3 separate regions of the Homo sapiens genome follow, and all the other regions are linked to region 2. Evidence: promoter capture Hi-C in 16 types of primary human blood cells and fetal thymus (Javierre and others, 2016). All regions are on one chromosome and are shown on one strand. The core of a region is centred on a gene start or on the middle of the fragment in contact, and the rest is flanking DNA. Distances in the headings are between cores, read along the strand shown. Region 1 has its middle 240 kb from the start of USP25. Region 2 holds the start of SAMSN1-AS1 (SAMSN1 antisense RNA 1). Region 3 has its middle 220 kb from the start of USP25.

Region 1 (3,749 bases), core at 634-3,133, 910 kb before region 2:
TTTTCATCAGCTCTAGCCAGGAATCGTTGAGTCATTTTTGATCCACTTTTATCGTTTGATCAACGTTTGATCTATGGGATGAAGTCAAATTGTGAGTCCATCAGCTTCCCTCACTTGTGCTGTTTCCCTCTCTCTTTTATGCACTCAGTTATTAACACTCACTTCTAACCAGCTGTACCTCTGTAAAGCTTTATTCTTTGGCTTAAGGTAGTCACTTAGCTGTTGCAGGCTGTTTTAGTCAGCTGGTCAAGTTGACCCTGGTACCATGGGCACAGTCCGTCTTATTACTCAGGCACTTCATGTTCTTAAATGAAGTCGCCCTAAAACGTTCGCTTATATTGTCTCTCATCTTCAGTGGGCTGAGAGCAAGCACAGCTATCTGGATTTCATTGCATTTTTTTTTCTTTTTTAAGTCTGGAGACATTTAATCCCCAATAAAAGTCAGCAGAGCTTGTGTGGTTGAGGTAAAATGGTGAGCAGGGGAAGAGGCGGTGAAGTCCTTGCCTGTGCTGTCTAGGAGCATTCTTATCTTAATACTTCTGTAGAGTCTCGTGCTATTTTCAAACAAAGACAATTTTAGCGTAGTTCCCTAAATTTTGCCCCCACCCCTTTTTTGGCAAATCACCCTGATGCAAAACTTTCAAAAGGCTAAAAAAAAAAATACTGACAACAAATTATTTTAAGTGGTATGTTCAACTGCTGTATATACAAGAATGTGTCTCTAGTCTCTCCTTCTCCAATGAAATTAGCCAATAGTTTTAATTTTTCCTCATTTTCTAAAGTGTCTTACTCTTCTCTGACTGTTTGAACTTTGCACTGTGCAGCTTTCTCAAATCTCTGCACCAAAAATGAATTTTATAATACTTGACCTTTTAATCTAGCAAATCAGACCCTTTTGTAATTAAATTAAACTTTTCATAGGATGAACCGAACTATCAAATGTCATCTTATCTTTAGCAGCAGAAGCTGGTGCAGAAACATCAGACACTGTAGACAATAAAGAATCAAAACAAATCATTAACACCAGTCTAAATGCCTTTAGACTGTTTTACAATGTCTTCATGCTTATCTGTTGAAAATAAGCTGTCAAAAACTATGTTGCTGTCTGTTCAAAGAATACAAAGTAATACACTAAGTATATTTGCCTTGAAGCTGTCTGGAGCAGCTTTGAAAAAGATTAGCAACTTAGTATGGACATATGAGTGCTGAGGCGAATGGAATTGCCATTTTGGGGACAAGAAGCACTAAATGTAGATGTGCTATATTGTGCTTATAAGGTTGCTCTTTGCTAATAAAAGCTAATGGAAAATGAGAAAGAATCAATTATTGATAGAATATATGGAATGAAAATAAACATTAGAAGATAGGGGCTAAACTGCCATTAAACATTTAGATATATTTGAAATCCTTCTTAACATTTTAAAACACATTTATACTTATAATTAAAAATTCTCTCAAAAATCTATGAATAATAAACAAGTGAAGTTCAGTCATAATTTTCAAACTTCAAAAATAACCGCTGTCTTATTCCAGGCTCCAAAAATATTTAAGCAGATCTAATAAAACCAGCAAGATATCTGAATAAAATTTGCCGCATCTTATCACCTTCATGATCTGTGAGGATCTATTTTCTGAGTAACCAAGCTGCTAAGTTTTTTTTTTTTCATTTTTCATTTTTATTTTTTAGAGACAGGGTCTCTCTGTGTTGCCCGGGTTGAAGTGCACTGGCATGATCATGGCTCACTGTGGCTTTGACCTTCTGGGCTTGAGTGATCCTCCTGCCTCAGCCTCCCAAGTAGCTAGAACTAGAAGCATACACCACCACACCCAGCTAATTTTTTATTTATTTATTTAGGGAGGAGGTGGAGTCTCACTATGTTGCCCAAGCTGGGCTGGAACCCCTGGCCTCAAGTGATCCTCCTGCCTTAGCCTCCCAAATTGTTGGGATAATGGGCCTGAATACAGGCATGAACCACCACACCTGACTGCATATTTGTTACAGGCAGATAAATATATTCTTCTGTGAGGTCAAGAAGAAGCTGATGATGCCCTGTTTCTATGAACAGTAAAGGAAAGAGATGTTGTATACAAAGCACTTAACACTGGGCTTGGCATCTAGTAAGTGCTCAATAAATGCCTTTCCCATTAAATTTCCCATTAAATAAACCTATTCAGCCAAAGTGTGATCAGATACTGTTTTAATACTTGGAGACTGGTTTGACAGCTACAAAATAAGATGTTCGCTAGGTAGGTATCTGCCTTTTCAAAGTTTAGGAGAACAGAGAAATGCTCTGGTAAAGCTAATGCAGGTGGTGGTTACACCTTGTCTCTAAAGACAAGAATGGAGAAGACTTTGCAGTTATGTAGGCCAAAACATCTGTTTTCTAATCCAGGCCGCAAGAGATACAGGGCTTCAGGTCTCTCTGAGATTCAGATCTCTCATCTGAAAAATCTGAATAACACTGCCTACTTCACAGATTTGTCGTGAGCATCAAATGAAATCATGTTTGTAAAACGTGTATCAAATTGGCTAGTTTATAGCAGGTGTTCATTAAATATCTTTAACAGATTAAGTGTTCTTTTCCTTTTCTTTGAGGGAGTGAGTTGGCAAGAGCAAGGTAGGGTGTCAAGGTGCTAGCTGAGCAGGCAGCAACAACAATTACGTGGACCGAACCAACACAACTGGGGATGGTAAAGTCCATGGCAGAATTGGCATGGGGCAGCCTGTATCCCACTCTAGACCTACCATGAGTTCAGGTTAACAGCAACAAAATTCATGTCAAATTACTTCCTGTTGAGCCTGCCTTGTCCTTCTAGGGTCTGCATGGAGTATCAATTAGTGGTACTCAAACACTAGTATAAGTATCAGAATCACCCAGGGAGCTTGGTAAGAATACAAAGGCCCATATCCTATCCCTCTTCTACAATTCAGGGCATCTGTGTTCTTTAATAGTTCTCCAGATGATTCTGATATTCTTCTGCGTTTGTAAACAACTGGCATAGGTAATATAGTTGCAGCAGACATGGCTGAGGTCACTTCTCTGGCTCCAGCCACACCTGGAGTAGACAGTTCCAGTGCACTCTCCAGTTTTCTGACAGCCATGTCTTTGACTTCTGCCCTAGTTCTCTTTTGATGCCAAAGACTGTGGCCAGAGTGAGCTTCAGCAGAACAATGTTTGACCAATGGGGAATATAAGCCATGGATCAATGCTTCCTATCCACCCTCTGGTAGATAGTTTTGGGAGGCATTGTGTGGACCCTCAAAAGGTCGCAGTAGAATAATTCACCATTCTCCTTAGCAGCAGTCTGGAAAACATACTCATATTGGATTTTTATACTCAATATGAGATTATATATTCATATTGGATTCCTCCCCGCCCCCCACCCCATCCCCGTATTCATCCCACACTTCCTGGAAACTCGCTTCTATTTCCTAGAGCCACCTCCCAAGTGAACTCCTGCACACAAGCCCTTACCTCCGGTGCTGCTTTGGGGAAACCACAACCTAAGGCAATGATACAGTGGCTGAAAACGTGTCTGGGACTGAGCAGAACATTGAGCTTCCACCAGGAAGCTTCTATTGCATGCAATGCAATGACAGAGCAAATTAAAAATAAATAAAGCTCCGAAGGGCAAGGGAGTTTTTGTTCAGAACTATAGCAAGTGGCACACTGTGGAAAAGGGAGGCATGCACAAAACTGGACCAGGTGTGTATGGTCTGTTTGAGTGGACAATGGTTCAGGCCCTGG
Region 2 (3,970 bases), core at 347-2,846:
CTTGAGCTGTGTTTGTGCTAGGCCATAAAATCAGGCAGTGACCCTGTGGAATCAATGGGGACATTAAAGCGACTACAGAAACTGGTTTGGACTAAGAAAGCCAGAGTGCAGAATCTGGATGAGGTGAAACCGACATTAATAAACCTCCGTAAGTAAGAACTCAATAAGCTGTTAAAACTCCTTTGAGGGAGAACTAAGGAAGCATACGTTAATGAAGCCCATTTTGATAAAGTCTTAAGATAATCATTAAACATTGAGGATTTTTTTTTATTGCCAAGTTATTTTAAAACAGACATCCCCATCTGTTCCTGAATTTTACCCCGTATTTATGCACCGCCCCGTTTCTCCTTGCCTTCAAGACCGGGCTCCGAGACACAGTGAGAGAGAGCAATGGAGGAAGCTCAGCAGTGTCCACTGTCGCCATTCCTTGGCCATAGAAAACAATGTATTTGAATTTTGATGTAAGCATAACAAATTGGTATGTCCATGGCATGCAACTTTGATTTTCATTTATTTATTTATAATAGCATGCCTTAAGTAATCGAACTCTTTTAAAAATACCCATTAAACGTTTGGATTTAAAGGGATTCCATGACATAGAGCAATTGACTCTGGGTGATATATATTTCTATTTTCTGTAACTGTTTTCTACATTACTAGAAATTTCATCAGAGTCTTTGCCACATTGTGTAAATATAGATCTCACAAATGAACTTTATGGTATTACAGATATGGCTTTTTTAAATTTTTGTCGTTCTTGTTTTTTGAAAACCATTTCACTGTGAGACACACTGCATCCATACATCTCTTGGTAGATTGATATTAAAATAGACAATTTCAGAATGTCAGTAGGATTTCAGTCCAAACCACTGAGATTTTATTCTTTTAAGTAGGGCAAATAATTTTATTTATTTCCTTATAATTCTTTATTATACACATGACCTTAAAAATTAAAAAAATATTTAAGAATAGAAACATAAGAGGTGGGTTTTTTAATTGTATTTTTTTCTCAAATATCTTTCAGCATATTATTTGTATGTGGCCTCCATTCTTTCCAGTGAGATAGAATTTAATCAATTGTTATGGTTTCAAAAATGTCAGAAAAATGCGACTTTTACAAAACAAAAAATTTTATATAGCAAAATAACTTGCTTTTTAAATAAATGCTGCTGTAAATAATTTTATAAAATTGAATGACTTCTTGGTTTATCCATTGCAGTGTATTTATTTCTCTTATATAAATGGAAGAATAATTCCTATATGTGAAGAATTATAATCATAGTTTTTAACCTATTTCTTTGTCATTCAGAAGATGAAGATGACACGTTGATTTCTTGTTTGAAATTAACCAAGTCCCGAGAAAAGAAAGTGAATAGTGTTAGCACGAGGAGGAAGGAAGAAATGGAGATTAGATTGGATACTCTTTCTGCATCACTGGGTAGATCCAGCACTTTAAATAACTGCAACTTGGAAGATAAATTAGCTTGGTATGAAGGTGAAGCTTACATGTGGCATCACTGGAAGCCTTTTCCTGAAAACCCTCTCTGGACATGTCTTGATTTCCAAATAGCACAAGTTGGACCCTGGGACCACTGCTCCTCTTGTATTCGCCACACACGTCTCAAGTCTTCCTGCTCAGATATGGATCTCCTACATTCATGGGTAAGTTTGCAGACTACGGAAATGTGTCATCTTATCTGGGGTTTTGTACTGTCGGGAAAGAAACAGATAGCAAAAGTGCTAATCAGTGAAATTTATCAGTTTCAGAAAAGTTACCAGAGCAAGAGTTGTCTTTCCAAAAAGCAACCAAACTCTTGTGACTTTTACCCATATTAACATTTCATATATTCCTTTGTGTACAAATTAATGACTGCATAAAATTTTTCCAGGGATTTCTTTTTGATTGAAGGAAGACTTCGTGTGTTGACTGAGATCAAGAAAATGTGAAGTGAACTGTCTAAATTATTGCAATTATAATGAAATTTCACTGAAAAATAATAGCTAATTTTAATGAGCATTTTATTTGGGCCTGCCATTTTCCTAAGCATTTTATATGTATTATCTCATTTAAATCTCACATCAACTCTATAAGGTAAGGACTTACATTATGAAATATTACCTTAAGAAATATTATTTTTGGCCAGGCACGGTGGCTCATGCCTGTAATCCCAGCACTTTTGGGAGGCCGAGGCGGGAGGATCATGAGGTCAGGAGATCGAGACCATCCTGGCTAACAAGGTGAAACCCCGTCTCTACTAAAAATACAAAAAAATTAGCCGGGCGTGGTGGCGGGCACCTGTAGTTCCAGCTACTCGGGAGGCTGAGGCGGAAGAATGGCGTGAACCCAGGAGGTGGAGCTTGCAGTGAGCCGAGATCGCGCCACTGCCCTCCAGCCTGGGCGACTGAGCAAGACTCGTCCTCAAAAAAAAAAAAAAAAAAAAAAAAAAAAAAAAGAAATATTATTTCCCCTCATTTTACAGTTGAGAAAATGGAGGCACAAAAAGTTGGTAACAGGTGCAAAGTCAGACAGCTAACAGGAGGTAGAGCCAAGACCTATAACCTAGGTCTTGCTTTTAGCTAGAGCTCCTGCTTTTAGCTACTACATTAGAGTGTTTTCCATATACGAGGGCAGACTCTAAGGCTATTATGTGATACGTGAGAAAGAGTATGCTCTCTGGAGTCAAACAAATTTGGATGGATTCTGGCTGTGCTACTTTTTTTTTGGGCTTGGATAAGTTATTTAAACCTTTTAATCTTAACTTTCTTAACTAAAAAATGGAAATAGTCAAGAAGCTAAAGTCAAATATTATAAATCTTCTAGTACTTAAGAGTGGTACTTTTTTTTCAATTTCCTTGTAAATTGCTCAAGGCATGTTTTATAACTTTACCTACAGCTCCTCTGGTCATGTGTGTTTTCAGTGAATGAATGGGACAATTCTGTGTATCCAGGGAGCCTACTCTCTACCATTTTCCTCAAAGAATCAGTCTCTTCTTAGACAGAAGCTACATTTTATAACATATTTAGAGGTCTCTTAAAAGGCATATTTTCTCTTGGAACTTTTTTTGCCTTTTAAGATTTGTGCATTAAGTCTGCAAAGACTAGAATTAAAGTAACTTGTGTTCAAAGTGCCATAGTAAATATAACAGGTATCTGATAACAGACTTCGAACTGATGAAACTGACCAACATTAATCATTTCTAAATATCCTCCTTCTTCTTTAATCTTCATCTTCTTTTCTGGGACTGCTGCACTTTGCAGGTTTTCTCTTAGAGTAGCTTCTTGGAGAGTAGCTGGTAATATAATTAGGACGTGCTTCTGATGACTCCCTCTGATATCTTCAGAAGCAGGATCAAGGCTGATGACTCCTTGGCAAGTGGCTAAGCTGTTGTATAGGCATCTGAACACAAATAGTCAGAGTTTTCTTCAAGAATAAAATCTGGACTCCCTAACTTGGCATTTCTGGATTTCATCAGTCTGGACTCAATCTAATTTTTCAGTCTTATCTGTGCACTACCCCCACCTTATTGATTTCCTATGCCGAACTGCCAAACTGAATGATTTGCTATTCCTAAAGGCTGTCTCACACTTTCTTCCCTCTATCTTTGTGACAGTGTGATGGCCTCTGCCTGATATGTGAATTCTCTCTGTTAGAACCCATCCCATCATCCCTTAGACTCAGATCAAATACTTCATCATCTAGAAAGCTTTTCTGAGTAACACCAGGCAGAAGTAGTCCCTCCTTCCTTTGAACTTCTACATTATTTGAGGGCATTATTCTTTCATTCCATATCCATGAAACACATCCTGCCAACCTACTATTTGCTATTCACAATATCAGGCACTGGAGATACAGAGCTAAATGATATCTACACTGCCCTCATCTTCATGGAACTTAACCATACTCCACTTGTGCTGGAATTAGTTCAGTATTTGTATACTTCCTATGAATAACTTATCTTTGTATCCTCC
Region 3 (3,974 bases), core at 1,273-3,772, 930 kb before region 2:
AGCACATTTGGGTTCTAGATAGAATGGAAACATTAACTAGTGGATAATCTCACAAGAGATGAATTATTTTGGTATATTGTGCTGTTTACATTTATGAAATAGGGAAATAGCAGCTAAAATGCCTTTCATAAGATCTCAGAGAGTTAGGTGGAGGACGCTGTCTTTCCCAGTGTTGATCAATACGTGTTGAGCAGCCTTACGTGTTGACAGAAGAGTGGACCCTGATCCTGCTAATGTAAATAAAGTCCATTGCAGTCCAGGGAGGAAAATATTCACACAAACAGATAATTACAATACAATGTCATAAATGCAAAGGAAGGCCATAGCATGTTTGAAGTGGTGATAACCACAGGAGCAATAGCATGAAGAACAGGAAATACATGCACTGCTGAAAAAGAAACAAGCAGTTGAGTGTTGCTAGAGTTTCAAGCGTAAGGTAGGAGGAAATGAGAATGATGGAGGCGGGGCAGGCAGAGATCTTTATTCTGCAGATGGTTCAGATAACATCAGAGTCAGGGAAGACAGAAGTCTGTGGCAGTCAACCAGGCGAGAGATGATGAGGACTTGAACTAGATTCAGATTAGTTTGAGTGGAACTTTCATGGGGAGAAGAGTAGGAAGGAAAGAGGATCTCAGATTAGGGTATTTTTGTAATAGTGGGTTACAACAGCATGTTAAGCGTTCCCTGCTTCTCTCTTCCTCCCCTCTCACATCCCCTTTTTTACCCTTTTCTTGTCCCTCTCTTACCTTTCTCTTTCTTTTGTTGCATCTTGGGCAAATATTTAATTAAAACAATTTTAAAAATAGTAATATATGCTAATGGAACAGAACTCAAAATACAAAAGACACATAATTTAAAATGTCTGTCTTCCTTTTCCCTTGCTTCTCAGCTGCCCAGTTCTCCTCCTTCAGTGGAACCAGCTATTGTTCCTTCCAAGGTTCTTGTGTATTGCTTCAAAGGTACTGCATGCACTTGCAATCACACATAACACACTTGCAAAGACTTTCAAAAATAACTTTCATGGAGACTTTGTGTACATACTTGACAAGTTAATTAGCATGCTAGCTGCACTAGATTAAAATTCTATTAATTAATTTGATGGGTCATTTGATTATATAGCTCTAAAAGGAAGCGCGGGCTTTTTCTTGAAGACAACAATGAACTCATCAAGGATATTCACATGAATAATCTTTGGAAAATGAAAAATATTAAATTAAACTATCTGAGCCCATCTTTTTCTAATGGATCTGAAGACTGTTAATCTAATATCTATCCAGAGTATCGATTAATCTTCATAAAACCTCAGTGAATACTCTTTTTTACTGTTAAAAAAATCTGCTCATGCAACAACATATTACCCTGCTGAAAGGTCTCTATCCTAACTGAGCAATAATTGAGACTCTAAATAAATTTGTTTTAGTTTTTTAAAAAATCAAAGAAAAATCCTTAACCTTTCTTCAGTGGTAGGTTGTGGCACATTCACATAGTGAAGCATTCCAGCTTTTATTTTCACCTTATGTACACTGCAGTGAAACTCTTACTGCAATAATTCACGGAAGAGCAGAATATATGATGCTTTCATAAATAAGTATTAGTGCATTAGTCTTGTCCCAGTCCAAGCCAGATTTTCCTGGCTGCTTATTTCCCCAGGTGGCCAGAATAATACAATCCCTGATATAAAAACTCAACGGCTTCAGATACATATCTGATCAGAAGTAACACTTTCATAATGTTTTTGCATTTCTGTTGGCGAAATATGGTGTAGTGTTTATATAACAGCCATAATAAAATAGCCACATGCATGATTAGAACAACTGTGTCTTAATATGTGGTTGTATTTTACTTTATAAAAAGGATTCCTTAGTAAGCACTTGCTCAAGGAGTAAGTCCTTCAAATACAGAAAAATTTAGACTAAAAATAATGATTATGGCATGTTTGAATGCCAGCTTTTTCCTAATATGATTTTCAGTACTTAGAAGCACGTTGACAGAATTAAAGAGAATATGAATTCCTAAAAATATTAAGAACACTATATCAAATTATACTTTTCCCCCAATAGGAAGCTAGCTAACATTCTCCAGGATGTCATAAGTCTCTTATATTTCAAGCAGATGCACTCCAATTTATTGAGTACCCAAATAATGTTTAATGTTATTTTACAAAATCAGTTTGTTTTTATATGTTGGGTCTGAAATTATGTTATTAAACATAATTTAAATGTTATTCTGAATTATTTAACAATACTCTCTGCATTAATTCTCTAGAATATGTTTATCTGTTTCATTCACTGTTGTATCCCAAAGATTTAGAACATAGTAAGTGCTAAATGATATTTTAAAAATGAACAAACACAGCATTAACTATAACCCATATTTCCATTAGAGTATCTTCTCAATCACCCATTGTACATCTTTTTACAACCTTGATTTTGCTCTTTGCTATTTCAAACTATATAGCATAGGATTAAAAAATAAAATTGAAAAAAATTTTGGCTTCATTAGCTCATTATATTCCAGCTGCAGGAAAGCTAGTATAGAAAAATATTAACATTTTAATGGTTTAATTATTTTCCATACTTCATTTTCCTAGTTCAAGGTGATGGTAAATATGGAAAAAGCTATGGATTCTAAGAAATAAATAAAATAGAAATAGAGATAGAGAGGACTAGACAGCTAGATCATGAGTCACAGGGGCCGAGACATTGGTACTGGGAGGGAGAATCTTGCTTATGTGTCATTAGTAGGCCTTTTAAAACAAGGTGCCCCACACTACTCCATGCATTTCATCATATGCTAATGAAGAGGTGCTTTAATTAGGAAGATAATAAGTGATTCAGAGGGTGAGAAAAGAAAGCAAGGATTCCAAACCATTGGAGCTAAACACATGAAGGGTCAGCTACCGAGTGAGAGAAGGCCTGTGGCACAGGGCAGAGAGCAAGTAAGCTGCATGACACTGCAATAGCAAGGAATGGAAGGCAAGGACAGCGTACTCAATGAGAACTCACACCCACAAGGGTTAGAATATCACAGGGCCATGCTGGGCCTCCACCCTGACCCATAGTATTAAGCCGATTTACCCTCTTTTTATTGTCAGAAGAAAAGCAGATTACCTCAAATTTTGGAATGAGTCACTAAAATAATCTTAAATTTATTATTCACACTATCGGTTTAGTCTTAAAATCTGTAATAGTTTTTTGACATTCCTTAGAGAATCAATGGTCTGTCATTTGATATAGGAGAAAAAACAATAGTCCTGCTCCTAAGGAAACTTTGCCAACACCTTGACTATCAGGACACTGATCATTAGTAAGAGCTGAGCTCGTTTAGAAGAAACAGATGAAAAATGGCATATAAATGTTACATATGACCATAAATCAACAATACAGCATATCTCCTAGGTCTCCTTTTTCATTCTGTTCTTACTCATGCTTTCTTCTCCCAGGCACCCAGAGAAACTATTTGGTGTAAGAAGAGAATACAATATTAAGGCATGATGAATACAAAGAAGATTTCTATTTTTAAGAGGGAGGTATTGACTTTCATCTGCATCTTGATTTAATTTTTGTTCTGGAAAACAAAGGTCTCCATAGGAATTAGTAGTGAACCTCTAGAAATACACTGGATGAAGACCGCTAAGCCAGTGCTACTCAAAATGTGATTCATAGCCTGATACCTGCTTCTGAACTGATACTGGATCGCAATAAGGTAAGTATAGAAATGAGAATAAACATTTAGAAATTTTCACAGTAATTTGGCAAAGTTTTTGTCTATTGAACTTAATCATAAAAAGTTGAGACATTTTATGAATGTCTTTTTCCATTTTTTTCAGGGAATTTTCTCTTGCATAAGTACTGGATTAGCACTTACCTATCTTTTGATTAGAAATATCAAAAATATCTTGCCAAAGACCTTCTTTTGAATACTTCTAAATATCTACAACTTTGCATATTATAAACTTCCATTTCTTTATGTTT

Evidence for each region. The method cuts DNA at HindIII sites, captures the fragments that hold promoters and counts their contacts. A CHiCAGO score of 5 or more calls a contact.
Region 1: a fragment that was not itself captured here is called in contact with the fragment with the promoter of SAMSN1-AS1 in region 2 in 1 of 17 cell types (monocytes); the score reaches 5.4 in monocytes.
Region 3: a contact is called between a fragment that was not itself captured here and the fragment with the promoter of SAMSN1-AS1 in region 2, in 1 of 17 cell types (total CD4 T cells). The highest score is 5.5, in total CD4 T cells.

Annotation. Positions count from the first base shown.
Region 1 is chr21:15,490,647-15,494,395 of GRCh38, reverse strand. It overlaps the pseudogene CYCSP42. Among named protein-coding and RNA genes, the nearest start is that of USP25, 240 kb to the left of the region's middle. The HindIII fragment of the contact is 3,386 bases long and covers 191-3,576 here.
Region 2 is chr21:14,579,828-14,583,797 of GRCh38, reverse strand. It overlaps SAMSN1-AS1 (SAMSN1 antisense RNA 1), which reads right to left and starts at 1,596. Exons shown (of 5, transcript NR_046512.2): 1 at 1,507-1,596. It also overlaps a transcript of SAMSN1 not described here. The HindIII fragment of the contact is 2,204 bases long and covers 1,504-3,707 here.
Region 3 is chr21:15,510,850-15,514,823 of GRCh38, reverse strand. No RefSeq gene overlaps it. Among named protein-coding and RNA genes, the nearest start is that of USP25, 220 kb to the left of the region's middle. The HindIII fragment of the contact is 8,662 bases long and covers 1-3,974 here.